Linked DNA regions of Homo sapiens: regions 1, 2, 3, 4, 6 and 7 are each linked to region 5. Evidence: promoter capture Hi-C in 16 types of primary human blood cells and fetal thymus (Javierre and others, 2016). All regions are on one chromosome and are shown on one strand. The core of a region is centred on a gene start or on the middle of the fragment in contact, and the rest is flanking DNA. Distances in the headings are between cores, read along the strand shown. Region 1 has its middle 41 kb from the start of HSD17B4. Region 2 overlaps HSD17B4 (hydroxysteroid 17-beta dehydrogenase 4). Region 3 overlaps TNFAIP8 (TNF alpha induced protein 8). Region 4 has its middle 62 kb from the start of TNFAIP8. Region 5 holds the start of DTWD2 (DTW motif tRNA-uridine aminocarboxypropyltransferase 2). Region 6 has its middle 25 kb from the start of HSD17B4. Region 7 overlaps TNFAIP8 (TNF alpha induced protein 8).

What was found. Contacts are between HindIII fragments. The CHiCAGO score rates a contact against its expected background, and 5 or more counts as called.
Region 1: a fragment that was not itself captured here is called in contact with the fragment with the promoter of DTWD2 in region 5 in 16 of 17 cell types (fetal thymus, naive CD4 T cells, naive CD8 T cells and 13 more); the score reaches 42.5 in fetal thymus.
Region 2: a fragment that was not itself captured here is called in contact with the fragment with the promoter of DTWD2 in region 5 in 11 of 17 cell types (activated CD4 T cells, total B cells, naive B cells and 8 more); the score reaches 16.8 in activated CD4 T cells.
Region 3: a contact is called between a fragment that was not itself captured here and the fragment with the promoter of DTWD2 in region 5, in 14 of 17 cell types (fetal thymus, activated CD4 T cells, naive CD8 T cells and 11 more). The highest score is 17.6, in fetal thymus.
Region 4: a contact is called between a fragment that was not itself captured here and the fragment with the promoter of DTWD2 in region 5, in 1 of 17 cell types (fetal thymus). The highest score is 5.6, in fetal thymus.
Region 6: a contact is called between a fragment that was not itself captured here and the fragment with the promoter of DTWD2 in region 5, in 14 of 17 cell types (activated CD4 T cells, naive CD8 T cells, total CD4 T cells and 11 more). The highest score is 20.7, in activated CD4 T cells.
Region 7: a contact is called between a fragment that was not itself captured here and the fragment with the promoter of DTWD2 in region 5, in 6 of 17 cell types (naive CD8 T cells, neutrophils, total CD4 T cells and 3 more). The highest score is 8.7, in naive CD8 T cells.

The regions. Positions count from the first base shown.
Region 1 is chr5:119,409,514-119,413,664 of GRCh38, forward strand. No RefSeq gene overlaps it. Among named protein-coding and RNA genes, the nearest start is that of HSD17B4, 41 kb to the right of the region's middle. RefSeq lists enhancers at 799-1,068, 2,455-2,584 and a silencer at 2,541-2,835. The HindIII fragment of the contact is 432 bases long and covers 1,045-1,476 here.
Region 2 is chr5:119,486,985-119,491,148 of GRCh38, forward strand. It overlaps HSD17B4 (hydroxysteroid 17-beta dehydrogenase 4), which reads left to right. Exons shown (of 24, transcript NM_000414.4): 9 at 2,208-2,299. Among named protein-coding and RNA genes, the nearest start is that of HSD17B4, 37 kb to the left of the region's middle. The HindIII fragment of the contact is 613 bases long and covers 1,400-2,012 here.
Region 3 is chr5:119,367,062-119,370,735 of GRCh38, forward strand. The region is part of intron 1 of TNFAIP8 (TNF alpha induced protein 8); the gene reads left to right. Among named protein-coding and RNA genes, the nearest start is that of TNFAIP8, 13 kb to the left of the region's middle. RefSeq lists an enhancer at 600-699. The HindIII fragment of the contact is 2,657 bases long and covers 509-3,165 here.
Region 4 is chr5:119,291,858-119,295,526 of GRCh38, forward strand. It overlaps a transcript of TNFAIP8 not described here. Among named protein-coding and RNA genes, the nearest start is that of TNFAIP8, 62 kb to the right of the region's middle. The HindIII fragment of the contact is 5,662 bases long and covers 1-3,669 here.
Region 5 is chr5:118,986,396-118,990,004 of GRCh38, forward strand. DTWD2 (DTW motif tRNA-uridine aminocarboxypropyltransferase 2) reads right to left here and starts at 2,152. Exons shown (of 6, transcript NM_173666.4): 1 at 1,899-2,152. The coding sequence starts at 2,116. RefSeq lists a silencer at 1,736-2,065. The HindIII fragment of the contact is 4,492 bases long and covers 1-2,993 here.
Region 6 is chr5:119,425,530-119,429,473 of GRCh38, forward strand. No RefSeq gene overlaps it. Among named protein-coding and RNA genes, the nearest start is that of HSD17B4, 25 kb to the right of the region's middle. The HindIII fragment of the contact is 5,143 bases long and covers 1-3,944 here.
Region 7 is chr5:119,387,399-119,391,083 of GRCh38, forward strand. All of the region lies in intron 1 of TNFAIP8 (TNF alpha induced protein 8), which reads left to right. Among named protein-coding and RNA genes, the nearest start is that of TNFAIP8, 33 kb to the left of the region's middle. RefSeq lists a silencer at 3,668-3,685. The HindIII fragment of the contact is 9,397 bases long and covers 1-3,685 here.

The DNA.
Region 1 (4,151 bases), core at 11-2,510, 420 kb after region 5:
TTCCCTGTGCACACTCAAGTCTAGCAGGATTTGAGTCCAAAGCCCCTGCTCGTGGCCCCTGTGCTCACAGTAGTTCACTGAAAGTCTGAGCTCATCAGGAGATCTAGTTCCCAGGAGTCAGTACTCCCAGAATCACTCACAAGGCTGACAGTGGGATTTTCCAGGGGCAAGCTGCAGAGGACAGGACAGAACTGCATCACTTTGAGGAAAAGGGATGTTGTTCCTGGGAAGAATTGTTATATTTTCATTATTTCTGCTTGTTGCTCTGCAAGTTTGGGGACGATGTCTCATTAGGAAGGACAATTGCTTCTTTCTGATGAACCACTTAATAATTGATTTGATTATATGTAGTTAATATAAGAACCAGATGGGAGCAAAAGGTAATTACTTTATTGCAATGCTCAAAGAGGGAACTCAATATGTTTCAGGTAAACACCTGAAACAAATGACTTACTTCATGTAAATTTTGTATTGATAACATGCCTTGTACTACGATGAATTAAAGACAGTGCTAATAAACATCTTCTATCACCCCAGGGATTCCTGAAGTTTCCCTTATCACCTTAACAGTTATTATCTGAGATCTGTGTTGTTGTCATCAAATGTTGTCATTGTCTTGGCTTGTCTCCTTGAGATTTGTGTGTATGTGACTTGGTGACTATAGAAATTAATGAAAGATATGGGCAGAGACTGAAACAGTACTGAGCAAATGAATACTAATGATCCTTATCACAGGTCAACCAGCACATGATTGCTGAGAGTCAGGGCCACCACACTTCACAACACCAAGAGCTCCATTTGCTCTCTATTCAAATACACAAGGTTCCATAGTCACCTGGGCTGTGCTAGACTACAGAGAGGGAAGGGCTGAAAAGTGATTGAGGTGGATTTGTCTTGCTTCCTGACAGCCCAGCATCCACTTACTCTACTTAAAATAGCCTCCAACCTTCTCAGGGAGTCTACGCTTCTACTCTCAAGGCTGGGGGTTCCAGTGGAGCTGATTTCCAGCTCTAAGGGTGGCATGTGACCATGTTTGACCATCAAAGCTTCACATTCCCTTGACTGCAGTGATTGGATCAGAGATGGATAATGACAGGCCACCGGGACTTCCTCCTCTTTTGCTGAGACTTCTGAGATGAGTCTTCTTGACACAGAGACTTCTCAGCCAGAGTACAAGGCTGGCCTGCTTCTCAGAAGTCCCTGAGCTTTGGGGCCCAGGTGTAAAATGATATTGATTCAAGCAGGTCTCAAGCTGGGAAGGAACATATACCATGGCAGGAATACAAGTTTATGGTGAGCTGGAGGCACAGATTTCTCCATAATAAATAAGCATTGTGTAGGAGGGACCAGTGTTAAGAGCAGAAGGGTGTTAGGGAGGGGCATCTGGCGGGTTTGAGGAGTCTGGATCTGAACTCTGCTGGAGGATTCCAAGATGCGGAATGTGATGAGTCTCCAAAATTGCAATATGCTCCTCCAAGCTTTCAAGATCTCTGTAGTGAAGAGCCTTGGCTGCACCCTCCTTCCTGTAGCCAGCTGCATGTTTGCACACTGAAGAATTTAGCCATTGCTCTTTCTCCAGTCCTCTCTGCTTTAAGGCATCTTGGTTATTGTTTTTTCCTTCTCCCATCTTTTCTCCCACCATCAAGGTGAGACTTCACTTCATCTCTGGCAGTGTTTAAAAGAAATTTCCATTCAGCACAACTCTTTGAATCCTTTGGAGAAGAGTTTATCAAAGAAATGTAATAGGAAAATAAACTCTGTGGCAAACATTTGGCAATTTATTTTCAGTTTTTTCCCTTGTAGTTTGGCAACCTGTTCTGATGAATCCATGTGCATGAATAAGCGACAGCCAGGATTCAAGGAATTGTATTTCTATTGTCTCAGTCATAACTTATCTCCCATTGTGTTGACTCCTCCCTGTATTTTTTGCCTGACATACTGCCTGCAGCTTCTGAGTAATTCTGCTGAGGGACTAAATATCTTACTCAGCTCTATTCATCACTCCTTTGTTCAAGCTGAACTAATAGCAACAACAAAAAACAAATCCCCAAACAACCGTATGGTAATTTGGTATATAACATGCCACCATTTATGGGGCTGAGTTTTAGAACGTCCCCCCACCCCCTACCCCCCGCCCGGTGCCAAGGACTCAGGAATGATGGGGAGTGTAATTGAGGGATTTCCATTTATGTCATTCCTAGGAAAGTATGTTTCCCCAGGCTCTCAATCTGATTTTTCTCCTCTTACTGAGTGCTTACTGTAGCCTTTACAAGGGATTCATTGGTCTGTATATCATCTAATTGCTTCAGTGCCATGATAAATCAATTTAAGAAGCGATTGAAGCGTTCAACATAACAAGTCTTCCCATAAACCAGCTATTTGGGCTCTGGTGGCAAATCGGAGAGCAGAGACAGGCACCGGAGGGTGCCCTCAGCACGGAGACAGGAGCCCACTGCTGGTAGTTTGGTATTGGAAAGTGTTCCTTGGGGAAGTCAGCCAGGACAGCAGCGGGAGAAGAAGCTGCTCCGGGCTAACTTTGCCTCATCGTAACAGCGAGATCTGTAGATACTAGCTCTGCCTTTGGTCAGAAGAAAGTCTCTGAATTATTAGAAGGAAAAAGAGAGTGGGGGAAATAGAAACAACAAAAGTTCTCTATTTCCTCGGGAATGGTAGAGCCTAGCCTTGAAGACGCTAATGTTTCTGTGGCTCTTTACTCCCTCTTGTGGCCATATGGTGCCAGTGTTTTCTATCACAGACCATGTTTGCATCAATCACTCTGTTGTTTAACGTGAGAATATAATTAGTTTGGATGTAATAATCTAAGGACACAAAGCAAAGAGGGTCTATGTGCATCTGGACACACTTCTCAGAGAGTTAAAGAATTCAGTCGTAAAAAGTCGTAAATTAGCACGTAGATCCATTGTTCCTGCCAATATATAGCTTCACAAACACCTTTTTCACCAAATATTGGACTAGTACAGGGATTATACGACTTGGGAAGGAAAGAAAGCAAAAGAATTTTACTCTTTTACTTCAGCTGAGGGTAAATAATATAAAATTTCCCTACAAGAATTAAAACGTAGGATCTGAATTCATACATACATCTCAGCGATGTAATGTATGTTTGTAATATTTTTGGAATTATTTTACTTATTGCATATTGTATTCTCTGTAACATGCTCTCCTCTGCAGCACAGGCAGGAGTGGAACAAATGACAATTTAATTGAAAGGTCCCTTTTTTGAAAACTTGAATAGGATGGGCAGCTCTCCAAGAAAATGTACTAGAAATAGATTCTGTTTTTCAAGGAAAATGAGCTGGCAGCAATTTTTAAAGTGCTATGCATTGCTTTAGGATTATTCTCAATAGGGCCAAGTACATCTGCAGTGTGGCTTAAAGTTTTCAGTACTTTGGTAAATTATGCGACATTAAAACAAAAATACTATACTTTTTTCACAGGTATGGACTCTGTACAGGGCATTCTTTAACTGGCCTGGCTGCTTGGGCGTGGTCAAGGTACTGTAAACATTTGTCTTTCCTGGTAGGGTGGGCAGCCTCTACAATTGTCCCCACAATCTTTCCCTCTTGGTATCCATGCCCTTGTACAATCTCTCCCCTTTGAGCATGGGGTGGACTTATTGACTTGCTTCAAATGAAGAGAATATTGCAAAAGTTATGGGATATCATTTCCTTAGGTTACAAAAAGACTATGGCTTGCCAAAAATGGAAGCAACCAAGATGTCCTTCTACTGATGTGGCACATCCACAGAATGGATCATTATTCAACACTTAAAAAAAAAAGAGCTTCATCTTCGCTGTTAAAATTGACAGTATTGTGGATCATAAAGCCAGTTTCCCTATATTTAAAAGGCTTGAAATCAGGGAATGTTCTTTGATGATAATGCATTACACTCAAAATCATTAATAAAAAGATTACTAGGAAATTTCCTTGCTTGATATTAGGAAGCAAACTTGTAAATAGCTCACACATCAAGAAAGAAATGTTAGAAGCTGGAAACCATCATTCTCAGCTGCTGCGGGAAGTCAGGGACCCCGAATGGAGGGACTGGCTGGAGCTGCGGCAGAGGAACATAAGTTGTGAAGATTTCATGGACATTTATCAGTTCCCAAATAATACTTTTATAATTTCTT
Region 2 (4,164 bases), core at 456-2,955, 500 kb after region 5:
TCTGTGTTCTAAATTGGCAATGTTTTCTTCAGAGAGGATCTGTCTTTGCTACTGCTGATTACCAGGAAGCATAGCCAATTTTGTTCTGCTTCAGTCTTCCTTAAAAGTTGAAGTTCAGCGTAGAACAGTTTAGGTTTAGGACCCCATCTTGATGCTGGCCTATCTCTGAGTACCTAGGTATCAGTATTGTTATTTGTATCATTCTCAGGGCAACCCTGCCTTCCCTGTAGCATGTAGCACTAGGGACTCTTTTCTATTTTTTTTTTTTTTTTTTCTGGTTGGAGGATACCTTCTTTATCTCAGTAATGCTTTAAAAGAATCTCATTTCTGGAAGCAGAAGTATTCCTCAGAGTACTTGGCTCACTGTAATGCTAGATATCCTGACATCTAGTATTGTGGAAGAAACACTGGGTTGAGTAAGTAAACCTTTCTATTTTTGATTTCATATAACTTTATATCTTAATAGCTATGGGACTTCTCTGATCTTTTATTTACTCTCTTAAGGTTGGTTTTTTATTTATAACATTGAGTTTAATAGATGCTGGCTAACCTAGGAGTTTGAGAATGAACTGGAAAGCAAGAATATTTGCTTATATTATTAGTGATAATATATAAAATAAACTGCAAGGCAGACGTATTTTTTTGTATGTGGCTTATGTTCTTTTCTTTTTTCTCACGTAAGGTAATAGATACTCTGTTGCATTTTATAGATATGTTTATTTCTCATTCAGTTTGAAGTTAGCCAACTCAAATATCCAAATCCCTGTACATAAATATCCTTTAACATTTAGTTTTGTCAATTGATGTATGGGAAATTAGAGGAATGTTATGTATTGAGATGAATGGATATTTAAGTTAATAATTTGTTTTAATGTACAATTTGAGATGGTTGGAGTCTTCCTTTTGTTTTTTCCTCGTGCATATAATGAAAAATGGAAGACAGGGTGCCATTGGAATGCTTGTGTACTTTTGAGAGCTTTTAGAGGCTATAAAGTGAAGAGTTTTTGCAACTACTTTTTAATTTACAGGACTATATACACCATCTTTTTTACTTTAACACATTAATACAAAATTGTATTTTGTCATTTCACAATTTTTGCATTTATTTGATCTTTTAGATAAAATTGTATGATTTGTAAGACACAAATTGTATCTCATTTGAGCCTTGGAACAACTTGGTGGAATAGGAAGCAGAAGCATTTAAATTACTAGCTTACTGATGAAGATACAGGCCCAGGGAAGTTGAATGATGGGCTCAGGTTCCTAAGTTGCTTGCATAGCAGGTTCAGTACCAAAATCAAAGTCTTCATGTTCTTCATGTAGTACCTTTCTGCTTCACCAAGGTACTCACAGAAAAGGTGCAGTGGTAAAGAGAAGTTGGCTAAGGGCTACGAAAGTAAGCTTAGATAGAAGGAATAAATTCTAGTATTTGATAGTACAATAGAGAAATTATAGATAACTATAATTTATTGTGTATTTCAAAATAGCTAGAAGAGAAGATTTATAATGTTCTCAACACAAAGACAAGATAAATGTTTGAGTTGATGGATATACCAGTTACCCTGATTTGGTCGTTACACATTGTATAAGGTATCAAAATATCACATGCACCTTCAAAATATGTACAACTATTATATATTAATTTTTAAAAAGTTCAAAAGGTAACATATGCAGTGGGAAATTAGTTCTTATACTTTGTGCACTCACCAGTGATGTCTTCAAGGTCTATTTCAATCATTATCTGCCTACCCTGGTGGTCTAGTGGTTAGGATTCAGCACTCTCAATCATTATTTGCCACTGTAATGGTCTAGGCTGTTTTGTGATTTTCTAGATTGTTGTTAATAGCTGGGAGAGTAGAATAATTTTGGGAATGAATGGTACCCAGATTTCTCATGTTAAATACAGTTTTGCTCACCAATCTTTGTCTAGGCAGTTCTAACTTTTCTTCTTCTGAACAGTATTAATATGTTACTCATCTTGGAAAGGTGTGTCTGATACTTACAATTTTAGAAGCTTGAGAGCCCTTTAGAAATGGCTCAGTTGAGATTACAAAAAGTTCTTCGCAAAGACTTAAATGTTAGACTAGTTATATACATACTAATTTTGTTCCTATTTTAAAGGTCTCTGAATTACCTATAATTTTATAAGTAAGAAATTCTTAGAAAGTAAAATGATTGATAAGATATGTGTATATTCTTTATTTCAGATCTTGTGGAAGCCCTGAAGCCAGAGTATGTGGCACCTCTTGTCCTTTGGCTTTGTCACGAGAGTTGTGAGGAGAATGGTGGCTTGTTTGAGGTATTTGCACCTTCCTGTTTTCTCTTATTAGTTTTCTCCAGTTGCTTACATTTGTAAAAATCTGTACCAGTGGACATCACTTGTATATTTTTAAATATTGTGTCTATGTTATAATTAAAAGTGTTGACTAATATCCATTTTTTGGAAAGTAATAGTAACTTTATAAATTCTGTTTTTACTTAGTTCTACATTTGTAACATTCCTACCAAATGAAAATGTGGCTGGTTTGATCTGTTCGGTCAAAATGTGGGGAATTTCATTATTTAAGAAGCTGAATGATAAGGTGGAAAGATGAAGCTTGGAGTTTAGAGTCAACCAGGCCAGATTTTGAATTCTTATTCTGGGAATTGCAGATTTGACCTTCGTGAGCTTTAGTTTTCTGGGGCTTTCTTGTGACAACTACAAGTCATATTTTAAACCCTTGGCATAAGGCCTAATACATAGCACTCAACCACCAATTTTAATTATCAGTATAGCAGGAATTTAATCTTGTGTGATAGGTCAATAAATATAACATTATTTATTTTTACATAAAAAATGAACTTTTCTGTTTTTTTTATTGCAGAGCTTTAAATGTTTATTATAAAAATAATTATCCACACATAATCCCATCATGCAGTGAGATCCATTGTTCACTCTTTGATGAAAGTTCTTTTAGACCTTTTAAAGCCAATTTATATATTTTTGATTACTCATTTGAGTTTGATCTCTTTTTTCTAGCCTAAACTGTTGTATATTAGACCCCCCCCCATTTTAAATTATCTGTGGTAATAATGAACCTGTTGTATACAGAACCTGTTGTAAACCTGGCTCAATTTAAAGTGAGGGATATATTAGCTTATTTCATTTGAATGAAAAGCTGATGGGTAAGTTAAGACAAAAAAAACAGTTTGCATATCTCTGAGCAGATATATGCACCTCCACTTTCCTAATCACAGCCATTGGGTGTGAATTGTGGCATAGTAGAGGTAGAAAGAACTTTACAACTCTGTTTTATAGAAGAGGAAAATTTAATAATCTCAAGCCATCTGTAATTCAGAATTTTGCCTGCTCTACTTTTACCTCATTAAGGAATTTTTAAAAACTATTTATCTTTTACAGTTATGTTTATTACTAACTTTGTGAACAAAAATAATATGTGCTGTTTGTGAAAATTTCGAATATATAAGACCATATAAAAAATAAAATAAAAATTGCCTACATTATCACTATCCAGAGAGAACTAGTATGAATATTTTTATGTTTTTCCTTCCAGTCTTTTATTAGATATGTGTTTTATTTTTTATTTTTATTTTTTTTGAGGCAGAGTCTTTCTCTGTTGCCCAGGCTGAAGTGCAGTGGCGTGATCTTGGTTCATTCACTGCAACCTCCGCCTCCCGGACTCAAGTGATTCTCCTGCCTTAGCCTCCTGAGTATCTGGGATTACAGGCACCCACCACCAAACCCAGCTAATTTTTGTATTTTTAGTAGAGATGGGTTTCACCATGTTGGTCAGGCTGGTCTGGAACTCCTGACCTCAAATAATCTGCCCGCCTTGGCCTCCCAAAGTCCTGGGATTATAGGCGTGAGCTACCGCACCTGGCCTAGATAGGCGTTTTATACACCCAAACACACAGACAATTAGGATAATGCTGCAGATGAAGTTTTGTTATGTTGCTGTTTTCTTTTACTATATTGTGAACATTTTTAGTGAGGAACATTTAGCATGCATGATTGATAAACTATACTAAGAGCTGTGCATAATATCCTGACTTAAACCTTGAAAGTAAATTGCCACTTTTTGAAGTTCTGATAGATATCTAGAGTGGCAGATACAAATATTTTTTGGCTCAGCTGGAGCAATTGTTTTTAGCACCTGAGAGGAA
Region 3 (3,674 bases), core at 587-3,086, 380 kb after region 5:
GCCCACCCAGCCCTCAGGGTTGCTGGGGAAAGGGTCATTCTTGCAATCCTTAATTGTTTTCCTCTTTCCCAAAGATGAGTTCTTAATGTAACATCATGGTCCATTGACCCATTAATAAAGTTTACATTCCTGATTTGTTTTAGTCCTCTGCATTTCTAGTTCTTTAAATTCTCAGATAACCCTTCCTTTAAAAATGCAATTCGGCCAAATTAAGCAAAGAAAGGAATAATTTGATTTTTTTGTTGCTGTTGTTTAGTTATTTGAGTCATTCTATGGTCTTAGGCAATTTTCTAAATGAAACGTGGAATGTCAACTGGACTATTTTGTCGTAGAGGATGGGAGGGAGAGAACTGTTATATTTGGTAGTGGTACTAGAATAGTATAGAACCTACCAGCAAAAGTGTCTCAGAGTAATATTGTCTGTTGTTTCCTTTCTATTTTTTTAAATGGCACCATCTATCCCTATCTTGTGAACTAGTTAAACATGTTTTAATTGTATATCTTTTAAAGCTTCAGTTAGCCAGATTTTTAAAAAAATGTTTGATGTTGTTTTTTATTCCATGAATGACTCAATTGACTACATGTAGGCAGCTACTAAACTTGGCAGTTTGTTGCCATTAGCATGCCCTTGGACAGGAAGTATTCAGTATAGATATGACAAACCAGTTTCCAGGCTTAAAAATAAAGCGGGGATTTCTGGACAGAATAGGTCTTTGTCACTCATTTCAACATGTCTGATGAGTGTTAAAGTTCAAAGCCTATCCCTTTGCTTTCTCATTTTTTTTCAGGCCATCACTTTACCTGACATATTCTATTATATAGATTGAAATTTATTTCATGATGCTGGTGTTTTGTTCAGTTTTTAAAAATGAAATAAGAGGATATTTGAATAGTCATGAGAATCAGCTAGAGTCAGTATTCTCTCCTTGTTATCTCTTTCATGTTTAGTTCCTTTTAAGTCATCTCCCCACTGAGGTAGGTAATGGTGAAATAATGTTTCCCTGCCTGTAAAGCAGCTTAAATTAAAAGTAGCAAGTGTGTGCCAGGTACACTACATGACTTCTCTTCTTGAATCTGTGGTCCACTTGAAATAGCATTTTTTTCCCCAAAAGTTGCTTCCCATCAGTCTTGTAGTTCTTAATTTCATTTGTCAGGTAGTCACTTAGCAACTTGGGAAGAATCATACTATTTTGACAGATACTAACAGGTTTTTTGGCATCTTGTTGCCTACAGTTATTGCTTTATGACTTAAAAAGTAAGTTCATACTTTTTTTGCTATCTCCCGAAATAATATAATTTTCCCTCCTGTCTGTTAAAAAAAAAAACCCACACTTTCTCTTCTTTCTTTCACTTACCTATTCTAAGCAGCGTGTGTGTGTGTGTGTGTGTGTGTGTGTGCGTGTGTGTGTTTGTGTTGGGGTTTAAGAAGCCTTGACACCACATTTCCTGGAAATACTAAATTAGTCACAGCATTTATTAGATGAGAGTGTCTACAACAACAAAAAACTTTCTTTTTCTGAAGACTTAACTCCATGCAAGTGTCAATCTCTGAGCGTCTATTTGTTTTTCAAATAAGAAACTGTGCCAGGGAAAGATGATTTGAAATACAAAATGCTTGCAAGTGTTTTTAGTTTGGGGTAAGGTAAAGTCAATAATGATTCTTTGGGACATTTTTCGGGACCCAACTAAATTTCATTTGCCAAACTTAGCAATAAACCATGTTTATAAAGAATGAGGTTAAGTTCTTGTTCTGGGGCAGGACATGGCTGTGACCCTGAGGTGCTTGTGCTCTGGAGCTCCTTGACTCTTCTTTCATGATGGGAGCAGGCCTGAGTAGCCCCTGCTATGCTGTACATTGAGCTTGATAAAACTCCGGCCTTTTGAAAATACTGGAATCCTCTACCCTAAATACCCTATACCTGTTCAAATAGGATGCTTTTAGGGAAAAAAAGGGAACTGTTAACATAAGCCAAACTTTCTTTTCTTTTCTTTTCTTTTTTTTTTTTTTTTGAGAGGGAATCTTGCTGTGTTACCCAGGCTGGAGTACAGTGGTGCAATCTTGGTTCACTGCAACCTCTGCCTCCCAGGTTCAAGTGATTCTCCTCCCTCAGCCTCCCAAGTAGGTGGGATTATGGGCACCCATGACCATGCCCAGCTAATTTTTGTATTTTTATTAGAGATGGGATTTCACCATGTTGGCCAGGCTGGTCTCGAACTCATGACCTCAAGTGATCCGCCTGCCTGGGCCTCCCAAAGTGCTGGGATTACAGGCATGAGCCACCGCACCTGGCCCAAACTTTCATTGAGTTAAATGAATCCCTGGTCTGAAACTGTAATTTCTTTAGCTTTGTAGTGCTCAAGACTCTTGGACCTGAAAGTGGCTGGTAAGCGTCTTCTAGTTTTTATGATGATGGGCACATTGTAGGCAAACAGAAAATGCCTGATAACCAGTGAGGTGTGAGGACAGGCATATGATTCAGAGTGTAAAATATTTTGCAGAATTAAAACTTAGGCAGTTTTTCATGAGATTCATAAATCATCCATACATTGATATTTTTTGTGCCTCTGGCCTCATTGTTTGGTTTTTAGGCATAGGACTGTGTTTTACTCAATAGGTAGTTGTATCATCCATGGTACCACAGTCTGTCAAAACCACACCAGACATTGATAATGTATTGTGCATATGGGGTGACCTTTAGGAAGGCTTGGTAGGACCTTTTTCTTGCTGGCTCCCTTCGAGCCAGTGTGAGTGATATTCCATCTCCTAGTCTGTGTTTTGGATCACTGTTCTCACGCCTAAAGTCAGAACAGACAGACCCATGGGAGGGACTTAACCAGGTTTGTCTAGGCCGATGGAGGGCTCTAATGGGGTCACTTCTTACTCTTTTGAAAAGTGGTGGAAACTGAAATGAATTGTCTTTCAAATTTGGTCCAATCACACTTTATTGTCTGAAAACTTCTGTCACATCTTGTGGCAGCAATGGAAAAGGGAATGTTTTAGGTAACCCTTGTGTTTGAAATGCCTGCTTTTCTTTTTTTTATTGTTTTTTAAATGGATTTTTGTTTATTTTGCCACAGAAGCAGCTCTCTGTTTTAATTTGTTGGAATTTAACATCTTTGGAGTTCTTCCTGGGTTCTAGCCACTGGAACACAAATCAGTCCAGAAGCTTATTACTAGTTAACTCTAATTTAAAATAAAAATCAAATTTCAGCAGAAAGATTGGAGAAGAGAAAGATATTACTTGATTGAGCAACAGAGAAACAATGCATGAATCCACACATAAAACTCTTTAAGTTGAGTAAAGGAGGCTTTCAAACCCTAATTCATGCATTTAACAACTAAAATCCCAGCTTTTCCCATGTTGAGTTTACACAGAGAAGTTAAAAGATAAATAGACTTTATCAGACTTTGACAGTAAATTAAAGACCCTTTATCTTCCTGCCTGGAAGTTCTATAAAATAATGGGTAATAAAGGCAAGCTATTAGTCAAAATGGTCTGAATTAAGCCTGGAAAGAAAATCTTGCCTCTAAGAGCAGAAGGGTGCAAAACACTGGCCCCTCCTGGGCTTGGGCCCAGAGACAAAGGAATAGTGGTTACTATGACCCAACATCAGTCTGCAGCCAGAGTTCCAAGCATCTTCTCTGCTATCCCTAATGATTTAAAAATATATAA
Region 4 (3,669 bases), core at 282-2,781, 300 kb after region 5:
CCTCAAACTAAAAGAATGAAAATCAGGAATGCAGACTGTATCCTTATAAACCTTGGAGACATCTGTAACCCTGACCCATACAGGACCTAAAGATAGAAAGCAGATGAAGTGATGGCAAATGCATTTGCAGAGAGGAGAAGTGAAGTCAAGAATAAAATGCCTGCAGGGCTCACCGGGAGAGGACCGGAAGCGATTGATTTGCTCACAGAATGCCAGGAAGGCTCAGAAATGAGAGTTCCCCAGTTCCCCAGAGGCATAGGTGAAGCAGAGGCTTTAGGATGGGAGTAGGGGTGGGAAAGTCTGCAGGAGGTAAAGGGGAGCCCCAGAAGGACTTGAGAAGGGAAGTTCCCTATTGCAGCTCTGGCCCAAGGAGAAGAGCCCATCTAGAATAGAGCTGAAGGAGGAGGGCTCCAGGAGGAGTGTTTCTGGGAGGAGCAGGAATGAAACTGATTAGAAAAGAAGAAAAAAAGAAGAATGGGCCGTACTGGGTTTGAATTCTTTCTCTGTCACCAATGAACTGTGAGTATGAGGAAATTAGTTAATGTCTTTGGACTTTTCATTTCCTTATTTATTAAATAAAACATTATATCATATGGTATTTTGTTATTCTGTTGGGTAAAAGACAGTACAAAACCCAGCAAGTCTACTTCCAGATGTCTACCCCAAAAAATGAAAACATGTCCATACAAATACTTATAAGCAAGTGTTAATAGAAGATTATACATAAGAGCCAAAAACTGGAAACAGCTCAAATATCCACCAATTAGTGAATGAATAATCAATGTAGCATATATATATATATATATATATATATATATATATATATATACACACACACACAATGAAATACTATTTAGCAATAAAAAAGAACAAAGTACTGTACCTGCTACAGCATGGGTGAATCTCAAAAACATTGTGCCAGGTAAGATAAACCAGATGCAAAAGGCTACATACTGTGTGGTTCTGTTCATGTGAAATGCCTGGAAAAGGCGAATCTGTAAACAGCAAGTGATTAGTGGCTGCCTGAGGCTGAAGTAAGAATGGGAATTAACTAAAAATGGCTGCTGTGGGATGATGAAATGTTCTTCTTCTTTTTTTTAAAAAAATAGTATTTATCTTTATCTGTCTGACTTTTATTTCACTTAGCATTATTCCAGGTTCATCTGTGTTGTCACCAATGGCAGGAGTCCTTTTTAATTTTGTTTTTAAATTTTACTTTAATTGACAACTAAAAACTGTATATACATGTGTGTACAACATGATTTTTGATATATATGCATGTTGTGGAATGGCTAAATCAAGCCATTTAACACATGCATTACGTCACATCCCTTTTTTTTCATATGTGGTGCCAATACTGAAAAATCTACTCTTCTAGTAGTTTTCAAATGTACAATAGATTGTTATTAACTGCTGCTACTGTGATGTACAGTAGATCCTTTTGAACTTGTTCCTCCTGTCTAATTGAAATTTTATGTCTTTTGAGCAACATCTCCCCATCCCCCAACCTTCAACCTCTAGTCACCTCCATTTTACTCATTTCTGAGTTCAGCTTTTTTACTACACATACGAGTGAGATCATGTGGTGTTTGTCTTTCTGTGCCTGGCTTATTTCACTTAATATAATGTTCTCCAGGTTCATCCATGTTGTCATAAATGACAGGATTTCTTCTTTTTTAAGGCTGAACAGTATTCCATTGTGTATGTGTACTATATTGTCACTATTTATTCCGGATGAGGAAATGTTCTAAAAATTGGATTGTGGTAATGGTTACGCAACTGTATACATTTACTAAAAATCATTTAATTGTACACTTACAATGATAAATTATATCTCAATAAGGCTATGGGGAAAAATGGTAACAAAAGAAGAGTCAAGGGGTAGAGAGGTACAAATGAAACAAGATTGGCAAAATACTGGTTATTGTTGAAGGTGGGTTACAGATGAGAGTTTATTATACTCTTTCTACTTTCATGAATGCTTGAAAATTTGAATAATAAAAAGTTTTTAAAAGGGCAGTCACATGCATGTTATTGTATGGATGTCAGATAACACTTGCAGCGCTTTACAGTGGTGGATGTTCTAGGCACTCTTGGGACATAATTTTACCTTCATTGGAACCAAATCCATAGTATATCAATTCACTTTTAACGTGTTAGCTCTTCCCAATACCTTCTTTTTTTTCTTTTTTTTAAATTTTATTATACTTTAAGTTTTAGGGTACATGTGCACAGTGTGCAGGTTAGTTACATATGTATACATGTGCCATGCTGGTGCGCTGCACCCATTAACTCGTCATTTAGCATTAGGTATATCTCCTAATGCTATCCCTCCCCCCTCCCCCCAACCCACAACAGTCCCCAGAGTGTGATGTTCCCCTTCCCGTGTCCATGTGTTCTCATTGTTCAATTCCCACCTATGAGTGAGAACATGCGGTGTTTGGTTTTTTGTCCTTGCCATAGTTTACTGAGAATGATGATTTCCAATTTCATCCATGTCCCTACAAAGAACATGAACTCATCATTTTTTATGGCTGCATAGTATTCCCTGGTGTATATGTGCCACATTTTCTTAATCCAGTCTATCATTGTTGGACATTTGGGTTGGTTCCAAGTCTTTGCTATTCTGAATAGTGCCGCAATAAACATACGTGTGCATGTGTCTTTATAGCAGCATGATTTATAGTCCTTTGGGTATATACCCAGTAATGGATGGCTGGGTCAAATGGTATTTCTAGATCTAGATCTGAGGCATCTCCACACTGACTTCCACAATGGTAGAACTAGTTTACAGTCCCACCAACAGTGGGACTCCACATCCTCTCCACATCCTCTCCAGCACCTGTTGTTTCCTGACTTTTTAATGATTGCCATTCTAACTGGTGTGAGATGGTATCTCATTGTGGTTTTGATTTGCGTTTCTCTGATGGCCAGTGATGGTGAGCATTTTTTCATGTGTCTTTTGGCTGCATAAATGTCTTCTTTTGAGAAGTGTCTGTTCATGTCCTTTGCCCACTTTTTGATGGGGTTGATTGTTTTTCTCTTGTAAATTTGTTTGAGTTCATTGTAGATTCTGGATATTAGCCCTTTGTCAGATGAGTAGGTTGCGAAAATTTTCTCCCATTCTGTAGGTTGCCTGTTCACTCTAATGGTAGTTTCTTTTGCTGTGCAGAAGCTCTTTACTTTAATTAGATCCCATTTGTCAATTTTGAATTTTGTTGCCATTGCTTTTGGTGTTTTAGACATGAAGTCCTTGCCCGTGCCTATGTCCTCAATGGTAATGCCTAGGTTTTCTTCTAGGGATTTTATGGTTTTAGGTCTAACGTTTAGTCTAACGTTAGACCTATAGGTCTAACGTTTAGTCTAACGTTAGACCTATAGGTCTAACGTTTAGTCTAACGTTAGACCTATAGGTCTAACGTTTAATCCATCTTGAATTAATTTTTGTATAAGGTGTAAGGAAGGGATCCAGTTTCAGCTTTCTACATATGGCTAGCCAGTTTTCCCAGCACCATTTATTAAATAGGGAATCCTTTCCCCATTGCTTGTTTATCTCAGGTTTGTCAAAGATCAGATAGTTGTAGATATGCGGCGTTATTTCTGAGGGCTCTGTTCTGTTCTGTTGATCTATATCTCTGTTTTGGTACCAGTACCATGCTGTTTTGGTTA
Region 5 (3,609 bases), core at 902-3,401:
AATGAGCAAGATTCTGCTGAAAAGTTAAACTGAGTTTGCACTTCCTGAACAAAGCTAATTTCTGGAACTCCCCTAGGCTGTGACATTTGTAGTAATGTGTTCAGAGAAATGAATACAGTTTAAGTAAATAGCCAAATAACTGTGACTCAATGATCAATCAAATCTAAGAATGCATTTTTAAAACTATTTTAACCATAAATGTAAAGAAGTTCACCCAGGGTACTAGTAGAACTCTAATAGCATAATGAAATAAAATATAAAAAGCCATCAATTCATTTATATTTTATTGACAACACCTAAATATTCTCCATAATTCTAGAATTATATTCTACCTAGTTAAAGCAAATAAAATGCATAGCAAGAGGGAGGAGAGCTTTTCACAGGTAGCAAATTTCACAAGAAATAAGCAAAGTGTAGAATTATAGTCTACCTAATTAAAGCAAATAAAATGCATAGCAAGAGGGAGGAGAGCTTTTCACAGGTAGCAAATTTCACCAGAAATAAGCAAAGTGCAGAAATGTTGGGGAAAATTGTAATCCTAAGGTATTAACTAAACGTAACTGAAAAAAAGATTAAATTCAGCAAGCCATTTTTTTAAAAAAGCATCATAAAATAAATCTCTGCTAAACAGATTTTTACCTATATATTTATAATTAACAATTCTGAACAGACTAAAAACTAAATAAAACTAGCACAGTAATTTAGCCTTTGATTTATATTTGAAACACTTTTCCTCCAGTATCCTATTGAGACCCCTCCAAACATTTTTAAATGCTTCCCCAACCCCCTCAGACGACTTGTTTAAATTAATTGTATTCACAAACCCCTATGTTCAAATTCACAGTCCCTTCTAATCACAAATTTTCCATCCTCCTCAGAGGTTTACTGAGCGTCAACTATACATAGTACATTTAGAAAATATAAAAACATTCTACATTCAAGATCCTTTCCTCTGAAGTCTTACAATCCAGCCCTAGGAAAAGGTCAAAATGTCCAAAGTGTGATACTCCAAGTATTCAAGCAGTAAAGATCTTCAACCATATTCAGTCCTTCTGTTCCCCTTCTTGGAATGCTTTTCCCCTGGCTGGATTCTTCTCATCTTTCAAATCTCAGAGATAGTTCATGACACCATTGAGCTATTTTCTACAGTAGCAACCCATTCCTTTCCTTCACTGCTTTTTTCCCAGTTTGTAATTACATATTTGATTGCTTGTTTGCTGGTTTATTATCCGTATCCAGTAAGAGAATACTCTACAAAAACATGAACTCCACTGCATTGTCAGTGATTACCAAAGCACTCAATAAACACCTGATAAATTAATGCACAGGTCTGGTGTTCCGAAGAAAGGTCTGAGCTAGACACACTGGGATATAGATGATAATTTACCATGAAAACTGATTTTATAAATTACCAGTGGGACGTATGTAGGGTTTGAAGAGAACCTAGAATGAACACCTGAAAAGGCCCTATATTTAGAGTTCTGGTAGGATAGGTAAAGGAGACTGTCTCTCTCCTCCAATCCACTTTATGCTTTTTAACTGTGATATAACTATGCCACTTAAATATGACTGTGTAACTATTTTACAAGTATTACTGTCATCACCCCTTACTTCCCCTATTGGACGCTTAAGTTTCTTGGAAACAGAACTGATGTCTGCTCATCCCATGATACGCTCAGCATATTGCAGGAAGTAAGGTTAGATAATCATGAACCTGGAAAAAGGGCTTCTTACTAGGTAGCTGTGCCTGGCATTTCCGAGATTTCCAACGTGCACCCGCCAACTCCGCCGCCCTAATCGCAGAGCTGCCCGAGCCGCCGACTCCCCGGCAGGGGGCGCCGCACCCTCCTCCGAAGGCCGCTGCCGGCTGCAGTCCCCGCCCCCAGCCCCGCGGTCACCTGCAGCGGGTGCACTCAGGCCTCCGCTCGGCCGGCTCCACCGGCAGCTCCCACAGCCCGTCCGCACTGTCGTCGTCCGCCTCTGCGCCCAGGGCAGCCGCCGCCGGCACTGCGCCGCCCTCCCGCCGCTCCTTGTCGTTCGGCGTCTGAGAGCTTGAGGCCCCAGAAGGCCGCGCAACGGGCTCCTGGAGTGTTCGTGCCTCTTTCTGCGACTCCATGGCGGACACTCCGGTCAGGCCGTGGCATTGAAGCCCGGCTGCCGCCGGGGGGCGCCACGCGCTGTAGAAACCGGCCCGCGCCGCGTAGCGCAATGCCCGCACGCCACGTACGGGGGGCGGGTCTCCGAAGCCCAGGCTGGAGGTCCCACCCTGCCGCTGGGAAGGAACGAGCCCATTGGTCCGTGCCCAGTGGGACCGTTCACCTAGAACTGGGTAGGCAAGTGTGGGCAGTGTTGGAGTGCTGGTGAGGTTAAGTAGCGTCATTGGGAGAGGTAAGGGAAACCTCCCCGAGAGGACCCCAGTACCAAGCCCGAATTTAACTCCTTTAAAAGTTAAAATAAAATGGAATTCTGCATTTTCCGCCTTGGGATGGCAGTTTAAGAATTTGCAGGATTTCCACGCGTGCATGCATCGCAGGTGCGGCAGCTGATGCACTTATTATTTAAAGGCCAACAAAGGAGAGGTTATATCCACTGGGAACTACTCACAGCTGGTCCGTTTCCTTATGTGAATTTCCTGCTCTTCTATGTCTTGTGCTAATAAGACATCAAGCATGCTATTTTACACTGGACACCAGATATTTGTTAAATTAGATTTTTAGATCGTCCCCGATCAGGAAGCAATAGGAGAGCTGGCCCGGGGTACCAATAGGTTTTATGTATGAGGAAACAAGCCCTAGAAAGGTAACGTTGCCCAGGTATTTAACAACTACTGGATACGGCGGTATATAGCACAGCAGCTGTTTTTTAAAAGCCAAAATGAAATCTATGTTAGAATGAAGGCAGAAATACTATTTACCCAAAATGGGTATCGAATTCCTTTTGTTTATTAATGCTTTGTGTTACTTCCAGCAATACACAACATTAAAACAGAATTAAGCTTGGTTTTGATCAATCATGTGAATTAAGCTTAGGAATCACAGTTGTCTTAACTCTATAGTTGTAATAGATTAAATGTGAGGCAAAGTAGACAACACAGTAATAGAGCAAATACTGTATTTCTTAAAATGTTTATTTCACATTAGATTTTTCAGTCATCTTAAAATCAAGTTTGTGAATAAAATACCGTGCTGTTTTCAACTATCCTACGTTCTTTCCCCCCGGAAACAGCACCTCTCTTTTCCTTTGGAGCGTCCTATGTGAGGGATAGAAAAAGGCTGAAACACCCACCTGGTGATGGACGTAGAGTGGGAGAAAGAACTAGCAATTATGCCATTTGGAATCGGAGGATAAACAAAATCCAGAAACTGTAGGAAAGGAGATGAATCAGAAAATTCATCTTGTCTGTAGATTTAGGTTGGGGAACCAATTCTTTAACTGCCAAAATTAAATTCTCATGTGACTTATCTTTAAACGAAAGGAAGCTGCTCATCTTTAATTTCAAGAGGTGAAATGTGCTCAAGTCCTCTAAGGTCCCTTGAGACTCCCAATTGTGTGGTGTGAGAAGACAGATGATAAGGAAAAAAAAAAAAACTTTTTATCTAAGGAATGCGA
Region 6 (3,944 bases), core at 714-3,213, 440 kb after region 5:
ATGAAAGGTCTATGGAGAATTGGCTCTCAATGGGATTCACCCTGCCTTGTGAATCCCATTGTATGTGCTTAGTATATATAATGTTTTTTTTTTTCCTACATGTCCAAATGTAATCTCTGATGTTGGAAATTGTGGCTGATTTAGGAATATTTTTGGTAAAAATAATCAACCTAAGGTTTCTTCATACCCAGAGGAAACCTGTTAATAGAACAATGTAATCTTGCTATTGGTAGGCCGCTGAGACCCTGCAAGGGATGGGGGAAGTGATAGGCACAGAATCTGTTTAAAATCATTACAAGAACTATGGCTTCAGCCACGACCTATGTAACAAGAATAATACTTTGGAAATAACTGTCTTGCTTAGGGTTCCTATTCATAAGCAAGAAAAACTGACTCTGTCTGATTTAAGTACGGAAGGATTATTAAAAGGACACAAGGTGGCCACCAGAATCTCTAGGTGGGGGGAAGAAAGCTAGATTCCGAGGCTCTGCAGTCAGGAGCTATGTCTAAATCATGCCACAGAGTTGGTATGATGAAGATACTGTTATCCTCACAGCTGGATATTAGATGACGCCACTTGCACCCCTGAGACTACCACCACTGAATCCTGCTCACTCCTGCTAGAACTGATGCCATTTCTCCTCCAACTATCCATCACCAGAATGCATTCTGTATAGTTTGTCATTCACCCCATCAATCATTATTTCTCAATTCAGTGCCTTGGGAGGAAGTACATGATTTGCAGAACTTAGGTCATGTGCTATGCCTGGCTGCAGTGGAGGCTGGGAAGAAGAGTACCCAGTATTTTCAGACTCTGAAGTAGGAAACAAGTAAGGTATTATCCAACAATGGGAAGGTAATTTAGAGACTAGGCAGCAAAAAAGAAAAAGAATGCGGTTTCATCGTAATATCTCTTCATGTTCTCCCAGCTTTCCATACACTGTTCGGACTAAGCCAAAAAGCCTAGTGTCTCCCTTAGAAGAGTGAATCTTCAGAATAGAGCTATCCATAAGGTGGGAGCAAGGAGAACAAACATGGGAGGAGTTCTAACAACCAGCAAAGATCAGTAGAATTCTTACTGTGAAAAGGATGAAGATGATTAGGAGGGTGGATAATAGGGGTGTGGTCTGCCTGGGTTCTTCAGGGAATCAACATATTTTTCTTTTTCCTGGCTCTACCTGAAGAGATAGGGCAGTGAAGAGGATAGAAACACTAGATACATTTTGACTTTGAGAAGACATTGCCTTGCAGGTGATCTTAAAGCATCACAGGTTGACTGTAGCAGAATGACAATGGCCTTATTGTTGATTTATGCCGTAAGTGAGCTGAAGATCCTATTCTTATCTCCTTTGCTTCCTGGATGGAATGGAAGAGATATATTTTTGTTCATTTAAAATTTTTATTTTTATAATGTTTTATTTGGAATAATTTTAGACTCACATAGAAGTTGTTAAAAATCGTATAGAAAGAGAGAAAGCACAGCATATTCTAGGACTACTTAAGCCCACATACTGATGAAAATATAATTCAGAGGCCAGATAGATTTGAGTTGGAGTCAAATGCAGATGGGTTGAGGACTCCTGGGACCCCTCAAATATGTGAATAAAGCACAAGTTTCATCTGCCACATACTTTCTCAGTAGCTGGGGAGTAGCTGAGGGAGAAGCAGAGGCCAGCATGGCCTTAAAGAACACCACTAACCCTGCCAAACCTTTCCTGTCAAACATGTCACCTGTTTACATATACACTATGCAGTCATAAAAAAGAATGAGGTCATGTCCTTTGCAGGAATATGAATGATTTCAGAAGCCTTTTCCCTTAAACGCCGGGCAGCATCTCATACTATCCTTGACTGGTTAGTGTAAAAACAACACTCTTCCCCTAAGAAGGTGCAGAGTCCTCCTTTCTCAGGAGTGAGGAGGTCTAGGCCTCAGCGATTTTGGAGAGTCACTGCTGCCAAAGAGTCTATTTGGGATTGTAGAGTAAGGATAGATTTTGTTATTTCTTGCAAACTGAGAAATCCTTTGAGAGTGTGTGGTATTAGGATAGTACATGTTACACTGTTAACTATTGGCAAACTTTAGTTGAAAACCTTCTAAGTTTGGGATTTTAATTCTTCTTTGCTATTACAAAACCTCGTTCAGTTCATATTAACTTAGAATTGGTATAGATCGCTCCTTCCTGTTTCTGTAAGTACTTTAAGATTTGGCTGAGTGCAAACAACTCACACATTTGAGCAGACCAGTTATTAGGCAATTTTCCTAACTCTGCTTCTGCAAGAGTTTCCTTATCACTTACCCATTGTGTCTTTTTCCCTTAATCGCCTGGGAGGAACCATCTATCATGCTGTCCTGAAGGGAGTTTCCTCCTAGATCTGGTCGGACCTTTGTATGGTAATTAATTAAGATTTACATCCCCTGTTAGGAAACCTGCTGGGTTAAGGATTTTTGATAGGAAGGCTATGGTTTTTCAGTGGCCTCAGTGCTTTCGGGCTATGCCCTTGTTTACACTGACAACAAGGTGCTATTGGAGTGTTACAGGGTTAGAGAGAAGACCTTCAGTTATCAATTATAGGTTTTAAATTTACCCTGGCTTTTAAAGGAATAGGGTACACTGTTTTTTCTTTACTACTTCTATCTCTCTCTTTCTCTCTTTGACTTCTTTGTCTGTCTCTCTCTTTCTCTCTGACTCCCTCTTTGTCTCTTCCTCTCTTTCCTTCTTTGACTTTCTGTCTCTCTGTCTCTTCCTCTCTCTCTTTGACTCCTTCTTTGTCTCTGTCTCTTCCTCTCTCTGTCTCCTTCTCTTTGTCTGTCTGTTTCTTCCTCTCTGTCTCTCTTTCTCTGTCTCTTTCTCTCTTTCCTTTCTGCTGCCTCTGCCAGCTATTTATGCTGCTGTTCTCTCCTCTCCTTTCCCTTCTGATGGCTTTGGTGGTGTAAGACTGCCACCTCCTTGGGTTTTTGCACTGCGTGCAATAACTCCATGGTTTCCTTGTGATATTTAATGGGGGTTCCCCCAGAGGTTAGGAACTCCCTTTCTTTCCATATTGCAGCATGGGCATGTAGGATTAGATAAGCATACTTGCTATCTGTATACACATTTATTCTTCTTCCCTTTCCCAGTTCTAAGGCTTGGGTAAGTGCCACTAGTTCTGCTAACTGGGCTCTGGTCCCTGGGGGAAGAGGCTTACTTTCAAGTACTGTTACTATGGCGTAACCTGTCCTTCGTATCCCATTCTCCACAAATGAACTTTCATTGCTGTATAGGTTAAGGTCAGGAATAACTAAGGGGACTTCTTGGGTGGCATAAGTCTGGACTATAATTAGTTGGCAGTCATGCTCGATTGGTTCCCCATCCTCTGGGAGAAAAGTGGCAGGGTTGAGGGTCACACACAAGCATATTTGAAGCACTGGTCCCTCAAGGAGTAGCACCTGGTATCTAAGGAGGCAGTTGTCTGATAGCCATAAACTTCCTTTGGCACCCAGTATGCCATTTACATCATGAGTAGTCCAGACAGTGAGATCCTTTCCTTGTATTATTTTGATAGCCTCTGACACTAAGATGGCCACCATCACAACTACCTGTAAACAGTGAGGCCAGCCTTTTGCTACCATATCAAGTTCCTTACTTAGGTATGCCACTGGTTGTGGGGTTGTCCCACGAGTCTGAGTAAGGACACTAAGAGCTATTCCTGCTCTCTCTGTGATGTATAAAGAAAAGTTTCATCCTGTGGGAAGGCTTAAGGCTAGAGCTAGAGTTTGTTTCTTCCAATGCCCAGTCTTCAGGGTTGATTCCCTCCTCAAGCAGGGGACAATAAATGGGTAACTTGTTCCTCATATTCATGTAGATAATAGCTCCAGCTTTGGCTAATATATCCTTCCCCAATAAGGGTATGGGACTTTCAGGCATAACAAGAAAGGCATGTGAAAAGAGCAGTCTCCCAGTTAC
Region 7 (3,685 bases), core at 234-2,733, 400 kb after region 5:
ACTAGGCAAGAATTTGCAATGTATGTACATCTGTTGTCATCACTGTTAAAGAGTCCCAAGTATAATAGATTTGAGGGGAAAAAATTATGTATTTACTGGTAAGACTGTAAAGAAAATGATTTGAGTACTTTATTAGAAAATTCTCAGTGGGAGTAGTTATGTTATGGGGCATTTTTGTTAATTTTCATAAAACTAAGTATTAATAACAAAGGACTTTTTTTTCCTTCTGAGCATATTTTTTCTTGAATATTTGGGTCAGTATATTTTAACCATATTTATCTCTAACTTTATAATTTTGATGCTAAAGCCAGAATTCCCTAAATATCACTTTGCCTTACAGCAAATGTTGCTGAAATGGCCAAGGGAGGAGATACAGAGACAGAGAGGGAGGGAGGTAAGATAAGTAATGTAAAATAACATTTACACCCTATTTCTAGAAAATAATCTTAAACAGTTTTAATGTGGTGGTAATGCTTTGTATTTTTTTTTAAATACAGCATTATTCTTCATTAATGAACAATTTACATGTCTGTTTCCAAACACAAGTGAATTGATCTTAAGAGGCAAAAAACTGAATGAATATTTTCAGCACTTTCTCCTTGGGGAACATCTCCTGTTTACATCTTAGTTGCTTCCCAGGACATGCCTTAGGTATCCCTCTGGCACATGTCTAAACATAGATCCAGCCAGAAGTAGAGGTGGGCCTGTGTTTAATCTCCTGCTACAGTTCAAGTCAGAACTACACCTTGCTTTTACTCTAAATATTTGCATTATTGTCCTTGGATGTTTTCCCATTATGCACAACAAATCTCTCCTCTTTAAAAGAACTGGTTGATGACAGTAAGAGAAATCATACTCTGGAGCGCACTTAGAGGGAAGAAAAACCACATGTTTAGTGAGGTAAAACAAATACCTGTTTTTCTACCTTTTAATACAACAAACAAAAACACCCACTAATGTATTTACAACTCTCGTTTTACAGGCCAACATGTTTTCATAGAAAAGTATTTGAGTATATTGTGGATGAGATAGGGGAAATTGATTGCTGCTTCTGGACCAGCCACTCTCTAGGCCTGCAAGTTGACACAGTGAACATGATACACAGAATCTTTGCTCTCAGAGTTTAAATCCTAGTAGGGAGAGGCAGACAATAAAAATGTAGGCAAATGAAGAGGATTTAAGGAACAAGGAGGTGTGATAGTTAGCAAAGAACTTACATGAAGCATCTTTTTTTTTCTTTTCTTTTCTTTTCTTTTCTGAGACAGGGCCTTGCTGTGTCGCCCAGGCTGGAGTACAGTGGCATGATTATAGCTCACTGCAGCTCTGTAGCCTTGAACTCCTGGGCTCGGGCAGTCCTCCCACCTCAGCCCCCTGAGCAAATAGGACTACATGCCCAGCTATTTTTTTTTTTTTTTGAGTTTTTTTTGTAGAGACAGGGTCTTGCTATGTTGCCCAGGCTGGTCTCAAAGTCCTGGGCTCAAGTGATCCTCCCACCTTATCCTCCTAAAGTGCTGGGATTACAGGTGTGAGCCACTGCGCCCGGCCCCATTTGCAAATTTCATTTCTTGAAACTCTGGCTGATATGTGAAAAGAGATAGAAAGGGGTTTGGACTAGGCTGCTGTCCGTGGAGATGGAGGGAAATGGATAGAATTCAGAGAAATGCAGGAGGAAGGTGGAATGGAAAGAACTTAATAATGGACTGGGTGAGGGAGAGAATGGTATGGTGGATGATCCCCAGGTCTCTGATTTGATTGAGCAAAAGGTTGGAAGGGATGCTATTAATTGAGATCATAAAGAGTGAAAGAGGAGCACTTAGTAGGGAGGCAGGAGAGAATCAAAGATCAGTTTTGCATATGGTAAATTTGAGATGCCTGCAAAATAGTCAAGGAAAGAAAAATCTTGAATGCACTTACAAAATGAGTCCAGAAAAGAGGTCAGGGCTGAGTTATGGCTATGGGAGTCATTGGCACATGGGTGGTATCTGAAGCTGTGGCAGTGGATGAGATCACACAGGGGTGAGGATAGACTGAAGGAGAAAAACTTGATCCAGGACTAGCTCTGAGATACACCAGACTTTTAAGGGATCTGGTAGAGCATGTGGAACTGACAAATGAGCCTGCACAGGAATGGCTAACAGCAGTTAATTTGCAAGAAAAAGAAACAAACTTCATGAGCACAGACCACACATCCCTGGCCAGCGACTCTCAGCCACAAGCCCCAGTTGGCTTCAAAAAAACTTTCTCTAATGCTGGAAAATAAATCTACTCATGCATGTCTTCTTGGTGGAGGGGGAGAAAGAGCTTCAGATGGTGGAGGGGAACAAGGAGCTTCAACCTCATTTAAAAAGACGACTTCACTGGAATAACCCAAAGAATAAAAGGAAAGTGTGACACAGCTGCTGTGTTTCTGGAGCGGGGTTTGAAGTTCCTCTAGGATAAATATGAAAGCCTCAGAGATCAACTTCTCTATCTTGATTCATACTTGATTACCAGTAAATGGGGAATGATCTTGCTTAGTTGGCAGTAGATTTGCCTGTTACACACTCTCTTGCAGGAAGTTGAAGTGCTGTATCATAGAGTTTTTGTTTTCCATGTTTGAAGTTAAATGGGATATTGAGATTTAATCAGAAAAGTAGCTGAGAAGAGGTGTAAACATGAAAGTCCAGTCTTGGATAAAGGAGAAATCTTATGAATACCTCTCCCTCTGGTTTCAATATTTCACAACATAAAGTATGTCCAACTGATAGACTTGTAGTAAATCCCAGGTAAGATATTTGTAGACTGTGCCATGTTCTAAAACATTAAAAAAAAACACAATAACATTTCAACTTTATATGTAATATATTACTGAAATCCTGGTTATCTGCTGAGTAGCTGAAAATGGTTGGGTATCCCTATATAAATCAAGTTTATTGATTTTTTTTGAGGTCTATATCAGGAGTTCTAAGATGAAATATGGTCCCTGGTTTTAATGTGATACTGTTAGCTACATGGATGCCATTTCTTTTGACATAAATTCTTTAGTGTGAATTAATCTTTATACTCTTTTGCAAATCATTGAAGAATAGGAATAGAAACAGATTTCTGCTTAAATGATAAAAACATAAAACATTAAATGATGGAAACTTCTCCATAAAGTTGGCTGTTTCTCACACATTTTCACTTTCCTTCTCTTTTTCAAAATATATTTTAGTTCTTCTGCAGTTTCAGTTCATGTTTCAGAAGTTTAAATTTCGACATTTGTGAGGGGACCCTTTCTTATTCAATCAAGACATTCTTTGAGTGGATGTATGGCACTGTATATTTATAAATGATGTTCAGGTCATAAGGAACCATTTTGCAGCTGCCTCTACTATATACCACGAACTACTTTGGTCCAAATTTCAAATCTAATTTGGTTCTTCTTTTCCTCAATTTTATTTAATTTTAATTTTTTCTGAGACAGGGTCTCACTTTGTTGCCCAGGCTGGAGTGCAGTAGTGCAATCACTGCTCACTGCAGCCTCAACTTCCCAGGCTCAGATTATTCTCCCACCTCCAACTCCCTAGTAACTGGGACTACAGGTGCATGCCACCACACCTGGCTAATTTTTTTTTTTTTTTTGTAGTTTTTTGTTGCAATGGGGTTTTGCTATGTTGCCCAGGCTGGTGTCAAACTCCTGGGCTCAAGTGATCCTCTCCCTACC